Linked DNA regions of Homo sapiens: region 2 is linked to region 1. Evidence: promoter capture Hi-C in 16 types of primary human blood cells and fetal thymus (Javierre and others, 2016). All regions are on one chromosome and are shown on one strand. The core of a region is centred on a gene start or on the middle of the fragment in contact, and the rest is flanking DNA. Distances in the headings are between cores, read along the strand shown.

Region 1 (6,484 bases), core at 361-2,860:
CACTTAAACCCTCAAATATAAGGCTTCCTGATCATCACCAAAGAAGCAGGTAAGCCACGGACCTTTATCCTCCCTTCTCTCATGAGGTACTCGTTTCCCCAAGCAGATTACACTTCCAACAGCACTCGAATCAATGCAAGAATCCCGCAGGGTAAAGTAACCCACAGTTTGTGATTCTATGCAGTCGGTGAGCAACATCTTAGCAAACCTGAAAAGGGGAAGTGTTTGCTTCCCCAGGGGTAAATTATGCTTAAGAGCGGTAAACATAATCTATTATTTCCAGCTAAAACAGAATGGAAGAGACCACCCAGCAAGTTCTATAGTCTTGTGTTCTTGCCTGTTTTGAGCTAGACCCCACTCGGCGCTACTACCCAGGCCCAGAGCAGTTCACCTTGAAACTCTGTGTTGTCAAGGCCCCTGATGGCCTCCACTGCATCCTCTGCCCGCTCCATGTGTACGAAGGCATAATCTTTCACGATGTCACATTCGATGACCGGACCATACTCCTCAAACTTGGCTCGAAGCTCTTGGTTGGTACAAGTGGGGCTGATGTTACCCACGTGTAACTTGGTTGAAGCTTTGCTCTTATTCTTGCTGGCTTCCACGTTGATGTTCACCCCATGAAGCTTGTAATGGTGCAGGTTGCGTATGGCATCCTCAGCTGCCGTCTTGTCTTCTATGTGCACAAAGCCGTAATTCTTAATGATGTCACATTCCAGCACCTTCCCATACTGCTCGAAGAGTGAGCGAATCTCCTGCTCTGTAGCCTCCCGGGGAAGGTTTCCGATGAACAGCTTCACCATCCTGACAAGAGCCTGGGAGAGAAACACAAGACTTCAAAAGTCAGGGGTGTGGTGGGAAATTTCGGTGCACTGCAGCATTTTCGTCTAATCCTCCAAAGTTCTTGCACCTTCAAGACCCTCGTACAGACATTCATTATTCTTCCTCAATAGAAGAAGGGCGGTTTGTTCTCGAGAAGTGCGAGCTATGCGTGACATGCAAACAGGAGGTCGAGGGTCAGCATGCATAGCCCAGTCTATCATCTCCGTGAAGTGGAGCGCAATGAAATACCAGAATTAGCTGCTTCATGTCTTAAAATGAGGGAAGAGAAAAGCCCAAGCAAAGGCAAGGGGCATCAATCGCAGTGCGCCTGGTAACAAGGTTTTGGAGGGAAATCTGTGTACCTCTCCTGCGCGCACTAGCGCCTTTCAAGATACTCTAAAAAGAAAAAAGTCCCCTTTCCCCCAAACCGGGGACCAACCACCTCGCCCCCAGCGGCCCACCCTCCAGCTTCTTCGCCCCAACAAAGACTCGACCCGACCCCTGCCCCGCCTCCTTCCGGAGACCCGGCCCCGCCTCCTCCCGTTGTCTTCCCAGACCTCCCGCTGCAAAATGAGAAACCCAAATCCGGGCCGTGCAGTCTGCCGGAGGCCCGGCCCGACCCGCCCCCGAGCTCCCCACATCACACACACACGACCCCCTCGCACCTCCGGGTGGCGGCAGCGACGGCGGCTCCCACGTCAGAGAGAACCTTACAAAATGGCGACGGCCGCTCGAGCCTGGACGCGACCGGGCCCTTTCTCGCGCGCCAGCTCACGCACGCGCGAGTGCGCGCTGCTTCCCTCCCCTTCCCCTCGCGGGAGCCGAGTGACCAATCCCGAGGCTGCATACAAATGACCACGCAGCACGGGGGCGGGGCCTGTTGGTGGTGGCGCGGCGCCGCGGAGGTCAGCCCACCCCCAGCCCCAGCCAGCCAGTCACCACCCTGGAAAGGGTCGCCACTGCTGCGTCAGAGGGGCTCTGAACGCAACCACTGCCTAGAAAAGCGGAGGCCTTGGGGAGTCGCTCACCACAATGGGTCCTGCTCTTGGGCCCTTTGAGGGGGGCGGGGAGCTAATGACAGAGGAATCTCCCCGAGGGCCCTAAAAAGGGGCTTTTGTAGCGGGCTGGCCGGCTTCTGTGGCAGCTTGGGGCAACATTTCAAAAATACAGGTGCGCCACATTTTAAGCAAAACTAGTCATTGTTTTGTAGCGCTTTAAACATTATTTTAAAGTTTGTCATTGCAGAGGTGTTATTTATTGCTACGGAAACTGAGAACCAAGGGGCAGAAAGATAACCTGGCAGAACTGGGACAGGCCTAAGAGGCATTGCTACCCAGGCTACGCTTAGTCATGTTTTGTTTGCTCGTGAGTATCCGTGGTCTGATTCTCTCTCACTCATTGTGTGTCCATCACAGTCCTGGTCTGTGGTGAGCACGCCAGAGGAATACTTGGTGGAGAGGCCCAGCGAGGTCCCTAGTTCTGGGTGGGACAGGGTCTCCTCGTACACACCAAGCTGGAAGTCTAGGCAACTGAGTTTCCCGACTGTCTAGCATTCAAAATTCAGCTGTGGTCCAAGGGCACCTCCTGGCGGTAAAAACAAGCTTAGGCGTGCCAGGTGCGGCGGCTCACGCCTATAATCCCAGCACTTTGGGAGGCCAAGGCGGGCGGATCACGAGTTCAGGAGTTCGACACCAGCTTGGCCAACATGGTGAAACCCCGTGTCTACTAAAAATACAAAAAATAGCCCGGCGTGGTGGCGGGCGCCTGTAATCCCAACTACTCGGGAGGCTGAGGCAGGAGAATCGTTGGAACCCGGGAGGCGGAGGTTGCAGTGAGCCGAGATGGCGTCACTGCACTCCAGCCTGGGTGACAGAGCAAGACTCGGTCTCAAAAAAAAAAAAAAAAGAAGTTTAGGCTGATTCCCCACTGTCACCTTCCAGCAAAGAGTAGCCTTTTATGGAGATTGATGGATTGGGTTTATCTCCTAGTAGAGCCCGCCAGGGAGGTTGTCAGCCACCATTCCTCATTTTAGTGGCTCCATAATGGCTTCTCTGATACCATCTGGGACACATTCCCCAGGCTGCCCTCTTCCACCCCAGCTACTTGGATATGTTCTTTACCTGAGTTCTTTTTGTTTCTCAGCCATTTCAGAAGAGGCACTGTCCTTCCAATTTTATTTTATTTTTATTTTTTGTTTAATTTTTTAAAGACAGAGTCTCACTGTGTCGCCCAGGCTGGAGGGCAGTGGTGCGATCTCGGCTTACTGCAACCTCCACCTCCTGCGTTCAAGCCATTTTCCTGCCTCAGCCTCCCGAGTAGCTGGGACTACAGGCGTGCGCTACCCCCCAGCTAATTTTTGTATTTTTAGTAGAGACAGGGTTTCACCGTGTTGGCCAGGCTGGTGTCGAACTCCCGACCTCAAGCGATCCGCTGGCCTTGGCATCCCAAAGTGTTGGGATTACAGGCGTGAGCCACCTCGCCCGGCCCTTAACTATTATTACTATTATTTTTGAGTCAGGGTGTCACTTTGTTGTCCAGGCTAGAGTGCAGTGGCACCATTATGGCTCACTGTAGCCTCGACCTCGCAGGCGCAAGTGATCTTCCTATCTTAGCCTCTGGAGCAGCTGGGACCACAGGTGTGGGCCACCCCATCCAGCTAATTTAAATTTTTTTTTTTTGTAGAGATGGGGGTCTCACTGTGTTGCCCAGGCTGGTCTCAAACTTCTGGGCTCAAGATGTTTCCACCACAGTCTCACAAAATGCTGGGATTCAGGTGTGAGCCACTGCACCCGGCTTATATGTGCTGCTAATTTAAAATAGCACTATCCTATGTTAATATTATCTAATGTTTATGCCCAAATTTCTCCTGGATTGTTACAAATGTCTTTTTACAGTTGATTTCTTCTAATCTGGACTTAAACATTGTACATTTGTATGCATTATGTAAATGGTGTGTTTTGAGTTGTATAGCTGTGTCTTACTATTTTTCCACTAAGGGCTATGTCGCCGCATGATGTCTAACTAGCGAGTAACGCAGTCCTCTGTGGTGTACAGTCACATATTGTACCTGTTCATCTCTGGGCATAGGGCACTCAGCTTCCAGCTCTCTGTCATTATAAACAAGGCTGCAGTGAACATGCTTAAGTATGTGCCCTAATTCTGTGTGAGAATTTGGGGGGATATAAAACCAGAGGTGGAATTGCTGGGTCATAGAGTATACGTAGAACTCACCTGTCTAAGTAGCACTGAATTCTCTGGAAAAGCTGCACCAGCATACTCTTCCACCTGTAGCATATGAGGGGCCTTGTATCTCTACATCCCTGCCAGTGATAGACATTATCCGCTTTTCTAATTTTTGTCAGTCTAATAGATATAAAGTGATATTTCATTGTTGCTTTAATTTGTATTTCTCTGGTTACTAATGATTTTAAGCATCCCTTCTTGTTGTCTTTTTTTTGTGTGTGATGGAGTCTCACTCTGTCGCTCAAGCTGGAGTGCAGTGGTACTATCTCGGCTCACTGCAGCCTCTGCCTCCTGGGTTCAAGCGATTCTTCTGCCTCAGCCTCCTGAGTAGCTGGGATTACAGGCGTGTGCCACCACCACGCCCGGCTAATTTTTGTATTTTTAGTAGAGACGAGGTTTCACCATATTGGTCAGGCTGGTCTTGAATTCCTGACCTTGTGATTCGCCCACCTCGGCCTCCCAAAGTGCTGGGATTACAGGTGTAAGCCACCACGCACAACCTTTTTTTTTTTTTATTAGACGGAGTCTTGCTCTGTCGCCCAAGCTGGAGTGCAGTGGTGCGATCTCAGCTCACTGCAACCTCCGCCTCCCAGGTTCAAGCAATTCTCCTGTCTCAGCCTCCTGAGTAGCTGGGACTACAGGCACGTGTCACCACACTTGGCTGATTTTTGTATTTTTAGTAGAGACGGGGTTTCACATTGGTCAGGCTGGTCTCGAACTCCTGACCTTAGGTGATCCACCCACCTTAGCCTCCCAAATTGCTGGGGTTAAAGGCGTGAGCCACTGTGCCCAGACTTGTTTTTTGAGAAAGGGTCTTGCTTTGTCATGCAGGCTGGAGTGCAGTGGCACGATCATAGCTTGCTGTAGCCTCTAGCTCCTGGGCTCAAATAATCCTCCTGCTTCAGGAGGCTGAAGCCCTCAGCCCTCAGCCTCCCAAGTAGCTAGGACTATATGCCCAGCTAATTTTTTTGTTTTTGGTAGAGACGAGTTCTCACTATGTTGCTAGTCAAACTCCTAGCCTCAAGTGATCCTCCCACTTCAGCCTCCCAAAACACTAGGATTACAGGTGTGAGGCAAATACACCTGGCCTCTTGAATTTTCGAGTTTATGCTTCTGTAAATTTCCTGTTCATATCTTTTGCCCATCTTTCTTTTCAGGTTGTAGGCTCCTTTTTTGTTGTTGATTTGTAAGGCTTTTTCATATATTCTAATCTCTTATTGGTCTCAAATACCATCTCTCATTCCACTAATTATTAACTCTGTCCATGGTGTCCTTCATTGAACAGAAATCCTTATTTCTTGTGCAATGAAATTAATTTTTATCTTAAAGCTGTGCTTTTGAATTTTTTTTTTTTTTTTGAGACAGCCTGTTGCCCAGGCTAGAGTGCAGTGGTGTGATCATGGCTCACTGCAGCCTCAACCCCCCAAGCTCAAGCAATCCTTCCATCTCAGCCTCCCAAGTAGGTGGGACTACAGGTGCATGCCACCATGCCTGGCTAATTTAAGAAATTTTTTTTGTAGAGATAGAGTTTCACTGTGTTGCCCAGGCTGGTCTTGAACTTCTGAGCTCCAGTGATCCTCCCATCTCGCCTCCCAAAGTGCTGGGATTACAGGTGAGCCACTGCACCTGGCCTGCTTTTGAACTTTTGTATAAGATGTTCTTTTGTAGCCTCCTTAGTCACAAGATATTCTCCTACATTTTATTCTATTAACGTTAGGTTTTTGTTTTTGTTTTTTGGGGGGATGGAGTTTCACTCTTGTCCAGGCTGGAGTGCAGTGGTGTGATCTGGTCTCACTGCAACCTCCGCCTCCCCCTCCCAGGTTCAGGCCATTCTCCTGCCTCAGCCTCCCGAGTAGCTGGGACTACAGGTGCGTGCCACCACGCCCGGCTAATTTTTGTATTTTTAGTAGAGATGGGGTTTCACTATATTGGCCAGGCTGGTCTCGAACTCCTGACCTCAGGTGATCTGCCCGCCTTGGCCTCCCAAAGTGCTGGGATCACAGGCGTGAGCCACTGTACCCGGCCTATTAACATATTTTTTGCCTTTTGCATTTAGGTCTGGAGCCCATTTATAGCAGTGCTATCCAATAAAAATATGTTAGCTACATATGCAATTTTAAAATTTCCAGCAAACACATTTAAAAAGTCATCAAAATAGTTGAAATTCACTTTAATGATACTTTTGAAACCCAATATATCTAAAATATTATTTCAACACATAATCAATATAAAAATTAAGGTATTTAAAGTTGTTGTCCTCTTCCATGCTTCATACCTGGTGTTTCAGAGTCATGACACACTTGGTTTGGCTACATCTCAGTAGCCACACATGGCTGGGTGGCTGCTGCTGTGGACAGCATGGACCTAAAGTCCACTCTTGTAGGTGATGTTAAGAATGCAAATATATTTTTCTCTACAT
Region 2 (6,206 bases), core at 3,485-5,984, 100 kb before region 1:
TGGGGAAAATCTACATTCTCCAGAGTCCCTTTCCATTTCTAGGTCTTTTTCCTGATCCAGGAGAGACTTCACTAAGAATTTGGCTTTTTTTTTTTTTTTTTTTGAGACAGAGTCTTGCTCTGTTACCCAGGCTGGAGTGTAATTGTGTGATCTCAGCTTACTGCAACCTCCGCCTCCTGGGTTCAAGCGATTGTCCTGCCTCTGCCTCCTGAGTAGCTGGGATTACAGGCACTTGCCACCATGCCCGGCTAATTTTTTGTATTTTCAGTAAAGACAGGGTTTCACTGTGTTGGCCAGGCTGGTCTCAAACTCCTAACCCTGTGATCTGCCTACCTCAGCCTCCCAAAGTGCTGGGATTACAAGTGGGAGCCACTGTGCCCAGCCGAATCTGGCATCTTACATATGTATGTATGTATGTACGTATGTATTTATTTTTGAGACAGAGTTTCACTCTTGTTGCCCAGGCTGGAGTGCAATGGCGCCATCTCAGCTCACTGCAACCTCCGCCTCCTGGGTTCAAGCGATTCTCCTGCCTCAGTCTCCCTAGTAGTTCCTGCCTCAGCCTCCCTCGTAGCTGGGATTACAGGCATGTGCCAGCACACCCAGCTAATTTTTGTATTTTTAGTAGAGATGGAGTTTCACCATGTTGGTCAGGCTGGTTTTGAACTCCTGACCTCGGGTGATCCACCCACTTCGGCTTTCCGGCCTCCCAAAGTGCTGGAATTATAGGCATGAGCTACCATGCCTGGCCTCTGGCATCTTTTTAAATTTGATAAGAAACATTTACAATCTATTATCTCTGAAGCTTGCTACCTGTAGGCTTCATCTGCATAATAATGTTACAGTCCGCCGGCGGGGTGGCTCATGCCTGTAATCCCAGCACTTTGGGAGGCCAAGGCGGGCGGATCACAAGGTCAGGAGATTGAGACCATTCTGGCTAACAAGGTGAAACCCCGTCTCTACTAAAAATACAAAAAATTAGCTGGGCATGGTGGTGGGCACCTGAAGTCCCACCTACTCGGGAGGCTGAGGCAGGAGAATGGCACGAACCCAGAAGGCGGAGCTTGCAGTGAGCTGAGATCGTGCCACTGCACTCCAGCCTGGGTGACAGAGCAAGACTCTGTCTCAAAAAAAAAAAGGTCTGTGTCAGGCCTCTGAGCCCAAGCCAAGCCATCACATCCCCTGTGATTTGCACGTATACGCCCAGATGGCCTGAAATAACTGAAGAATCACAAAAGAAGTGAATATGCCCTGCCCCGCCTTAACTGATGACATTCCACCACAAAAGAAGTGAAAATGGCCAGTCCTTGCCTTAACTGATGACATTACCTTGTGAAAGTCCTTTTCCTGGCTCATCCTGGCTCAAAAAGCTCCCCCACTGAGCATCTTGCAACCCCCACTCTGCCCGCCAGAGAACAACTCCCCTTTGACTGTAATTTTCCTTTATCTACCCAAATCCTATAAAACGGCCCCACCCTTATCTCCCTTCTCTGACTCTCTTTTCAGACTCAGCCCGCGTGCACCCAGGTGAAGTAAACAGCCATGTTGCTCACACAAAGCCTGTTTGGTGGTCTCTTCACATGGACGCGCATGAAATTTGGTGCCGTGACTTAGATCGGGGACCTCCCTTGGGAGATCAATCCCCTGTCCTGTTCTTTGCTCCGTGAAAAAGATCCACTTACGACCTCAGGTCCTCAGACCCACCAGCCCAAAGAACATCTCACCAATTTTAAATCGGGTAAGCAGCCTCTTCTTACTCTCTTCTCCAACCTCTCTATCCCTCAACCACTTTCTCCTTTCCACTCTTCAATCTCTCCCTTCTCTTAATTTCAGTTCCTTTTATTTTCTGGTAGAGACAAAGGAGACACATTTTATCCATGGACCCAAAACTCTGGCGCCGGTCACGGACTGGGAAGGCAGCTTTCCCTTGGTGTTTAATCATTGCAGGGATGCCTCTCTGATTATTCACCCACGTTTCAGAGGTGTCAGACCACGCAGGGATGCCTGCCTTAGTCCTTCACCCTTAGCGGCAAGTCCTGCTTTTCTGAGAGAGGGGCAAGTACCCCAGCCCCTTCTCTCCTTGTCTCTACCCCTTCTCTGCTTTTCTGGGGGAGAGGCAAGAACCCCTCAACCCCTTCTCCTTCACCCTTAGTGGCAAGTCCTGCTTTTCTGGGGGAAGGGCAAGTACCCCAACCTCATATCTCTGTGCCCCGATCCCTTATTTCTGCACCCCAACCTCTTATGTCTCTGCGCCCTGATCCCTTATTTCCGTGCCCCAACCTCGTATCTGCGCCCTGACCCCTTTCCTGCTTTTCTGGAGGGTAAGAACCCCCGAACCGCTTCCCTCCATGTCTCTACTCTCCCTTTTCTTTAAACTTGCCTCCTTCACTATAGGCAAACTTCCACCCTCCATTCCTCCTTCTTCTCCCTTAGCCTGTGTTCTCAAGAACTTGAAACCTCTTCAACTCACACCTGACCTAAAACCTAAATGCCTTATTTTCTTCTGCAGTGCCGCTTGACCCCAATACAAACTCGACAGTGGTTCCAAATAGCCAGAAAACGGCACTTTCAATTTTTCCATCCTGCAAGATCTAAATAATTCTTGTCGTAAAATGGGCAAACGGTCTGAGGTGCCTGACGTCCAGGCATTCTTTTACACATCGGTCCCTCCCTAGTCTCTGTGCCCAGTGCACAGAGACTTTCCCTCCTATCTGTCCCCTCAGTCCCAACCCCAAGTGTCGCTGAGTCTTTCTAATCTTCCTTTTCTGCAGACCCATCTGACCTCTTCCCTCCTCCCCGCTCCCCAGGCTGCTCCTTGCCAGGCGGAGCTAGGTCCCAATTCTTCCTCAGCCTCCACTCCTCCACCCTATAATCTTTTTATCACCTCCCCTCCTCACACCTGGTCCGGTTTACAGTTTCATTCCGTGAGTAGCCCTCCCCCACCTGCCCAGCAATTTCTTCTTAAAAAGGTGGCTGAAGCTAAAGGCATAGTCAAGGTTAATGCTCCTTTTTCTTTATCCGACCTCTCCCAAATCAGTTAGCATTTTTTAGACTCCTTTTCATCAAATATAAAAAACCCAGCCCAGTTCATGGCTCATTCGGCAGCAAGCCTGAGACGCTTTACAGCCCTAGACCCTAAAAGGTCAAAAGGCCGTCTTATTATCAATATACATTTTATTACCCAATCTGCTCCCGACATTAAATAAAAATCCAAAAATTAAATTCTGGCCCTCAAACCCCAAAACAGGACTTAATTAACCTCGCCTTCAAGGTGTACAATAATAGGGGCAGCCAAGTAGCAACATATTTCTGAGTTGCAATTCCTTGCCTCCACTGTGAGACAAACCCCAGCCACATCTCCAGCACACAAGAACTTCCAAACGCCTAAACCGCAGTGGCCAGGCGTTCCTCCAGAACCACCTTCTCCAGGAGCTTGCTACAAGTGCCAGAAATCTAGCCACCAGGCCAAGGAATGCCCGCAGCCTGGGATTCCTCCTAAGCCGTGTCCCACCTGTGTGGGACCCCACTGGAAATCGGATTGTTCAACTCACCTGGAAGCCAGTCCCAGAGCCCCTGGAACTCTGACCCTAGGCTCTCTGACTGACTCCTTCCCAGATCTTCTTGGCTTAGCAGCTGAAGACTGACACTGCCCGATCTCCTCGGAAGCCTACAAGACCATCACAGACGCTCTAGGTAACTCTCACAGTGGAGGGTAAATCTATCCCCTTCTTAATCAATACGGAGGCTACCCACTCCACATTACCTTCTTTTCAAAGGCCTGTTTCCCTTGCCTCCATAACTGTTGTGGGTATTGACGGCCAGGCTTCTAAACCTCTTAAAACTCCCCAACTCTGGTGCCAACTTAGACAATACTCTTTTAAGCACTCCTTTTACTTATCCCCACCTGCCCAGTTCCCTTATTAGGCCGAGACACTTCAACTAAATTATCTGCTTCCCTGACTATTCCTGGAGTACAACTACATCTCATTGCTGCCCTTCTTCCCAATCCAAAGCCTCCTTTGTGTCCTCCTCTTGTATCCCCCCACCTTAACCCACAAGTGTAAGATACCTCTACTTCCTCCTTGGAGACCGATCACGCACCCGTTACCATCTCATTAAAACCGAATCACCCTTACCCCGCTCAATGCCAAGATCCCATCCCACAGCACGCTTTAAAAGGATTAAAGCCTGTTATCACTCGCCTGCTACAGCATGGCCTTTTAAAGCCTATAAACTCTCCTTACAATTCCCCCATTTTACCTGTCCTAGAACCAGCAAAAGCTCCCCTGCTGAGTACCTTGTGACCCCCACTCTGCCCGCCAGAGAACAACCCCCTTTGACTGTAATTTTCCTTTATCTACCCAAATCCTATAAAACGGCCCCACCCTTATCTCCCTTCGCTGACTCTCTTTTTGGACTCAGCCCGCCTGCACCCAGGTGAAATAAACAGCCATGTTGCTCACACAAAGACTGTTCGGTGGTCTCTTCACACGGACACGCATGAAAATCTGCAGCAATTTTTACAAGAGAGTGGAGGGCCCAGCAAGCTCAGTCGGTAGAGCATGAGACGCTTACATGGGAGTAAAGTTTAATTTATTTTGTTTTTCTTTCTCTCTCTTTTTTTTTTTCTTTTGAGAGGGAGTCTTGCTAATTTACACCATTCTCCTGCCTCAGCCTCCTGAGTAGGTGGGACTACAGGCGCCCACCACAACACCCAGCTAATTTTTTGTATTTTTTTAGTAGAAACAGGGTTTCACTGTGTTAGCCAAGATGGTCTTGATCTCCTGACCTCGTGATCCGCCCGTCTCGGCCTCCCAAACTGCTGCAAACTGCTGGGATTACAGGCGTGAGCCACCACACTGGGCCTTCTTTTTTTTTTTTTTTTTTAAAGACAGGCTCTTGCCAAACACGGTGGCTCATGCCTATAATCCCAGCACTTTGGGAGGCCAAGGCAGGTGGATCACCTGAGGTCAGGAGTTCGAGACCAGCCTGGCCAACATGGCAAACCCTGCGTCTACTAAAAATACAAAAATTAGCCAGGGGTGGTGGCATGCACCTCTAACCCCAGCTACTCAGAAGGCTGAGGCAGGAGAATCACTTCAACCCAAGAGGCAGAGGTTGCAGTGAGCTGAGATTGCACCACTGCACTCCAGCCTGGGAGATGGAGCAAGACTTTGTCTCAAAAAAAAAAAAGTTGCCAGGTGTGGTGGTGGGTGCCTCTAATCCCAGCTACTTGAGAGGCTGAGGCAGGAGGATTGCTTGAGCCCACAAGTCCAACCTAGGCAACACAGAGAAACCTGCATCTCTCTTAAATAAAAAATTTTAAAAGAGGGTAAAATCATAGCCTTTGGAGTCAGACTGACCAACCTGGGTTCTAATTCTGGTTCTGCCTCTTCGAATTGACTATGTGACCATGAGCAAGTTACTTTGTTTTTGGAGCCTATTTGTACATACAGAAAGAGCACCTGGCCTGATTAGGCTCTTCTGATCTTTAGTAGACATGAGCCAGGCATGCTGGACACCCTGCAGTGTTTGGGACAGTCCTGCAAAACAGATCATTGTTCCATGTCCTGCACAACTTTCTAATGTCCTATAAGTTATTTACATGAGTGGAAAACCTGCTTATAGTTATGAGCTGAAAACCCTAACTCTGTTAGTTATGTAAACACATTATATTATATACACAGTTTTAGTATATACTGAATTTTCCAGGAATGTAGCTAAATGTAAATCAAAAGAATTTTCCTTACATGAGCTCAGATCTTTACAAGGAGTCATTCACCATTCACAAGATCATGTCTCTGAAGTTAACATGCCTGTATCAGTCTGTATTTAAGAGTGGTCCCAAGCCAGGCTCACACCTGTAATCACAGCTGCTTGGGAGGCCAAAGAGGGAGGATCACTTGAGGCCAGGAGTTCAAGACCAGCCTGGGAAACATAATGAGATTTCATCTGAAAAAAGAAAAGAAAGAAAGAAGGAATGAAGGAAGGAAGGAAGAGAAAACAAAAAAGAGAACAGTCCCACTTCACAATGACCATTTCAGATGTCTTCTAGTGTGATCCTGACCAAGGCTGTGCATATGGAAATGTAGATTTCTTTCTTTCTTTTTTTCTTGAGATGGAGTCTTGTTCTGTCACCCAGGCTGGAGTGGAATGGCGCGATCTCTGCTTGCTGCAACCTCCACCTCCCAGGTTCAAGTGATTCT

What was found. The method cuts DNA at HindIII sites, captures the fragments that hold promoters and counts their contacts. A CHiCAGO score of 5 or more calls a contact.
Region 2: a contact is called between a fragment that was not itself captured here and the fragment with the promoter of RBM4B in region 1, in 17 of 17 cell types (naive CD4 T cells, total B cells, total CD8 T cells and 14 more). The highest score is 19.6, in naive CD4 T cells.

Annotation. Positions count from the first base shown.
Region 1 is chr11:66,676,277-66,682,760 of GRCh38, forward strand. RBM4B (RNA binding motif protein 4B) reads right to left here and starts at 1,611. Exons shown (of 4, transcript NM_031492.4): 1 at 1,488-1,611; 2 at 392-815. The coding sequence starts at 803. SPTBN2 (spectrin beta, non-erythrocytic 2) reads right to left here. Exons shown (of 38, transcript NM_006946.4): 38 at 6,221-6,484. RefSeq lists silencers at 1,224-1,333, 1,534-1,813. The HindIII fragment of the contact is 1,797 bases long and covers 625-2,421 here.
Region 2 is chr11:66,572,453-66,578,658 of GRCh38, forward strand. No RefSeq gene overlaps it. Among named protein-coding and RNA genes, the nearest start is that of CTSF, 7.0 kb to the left of the region's middle. RefSeq lists enhancers at 520-1,271, 1,272-2,022 and a silencer at 2,633-2,833. The HindIII fragment of the contact is 7,863 bases long and covers 804-6,206 here.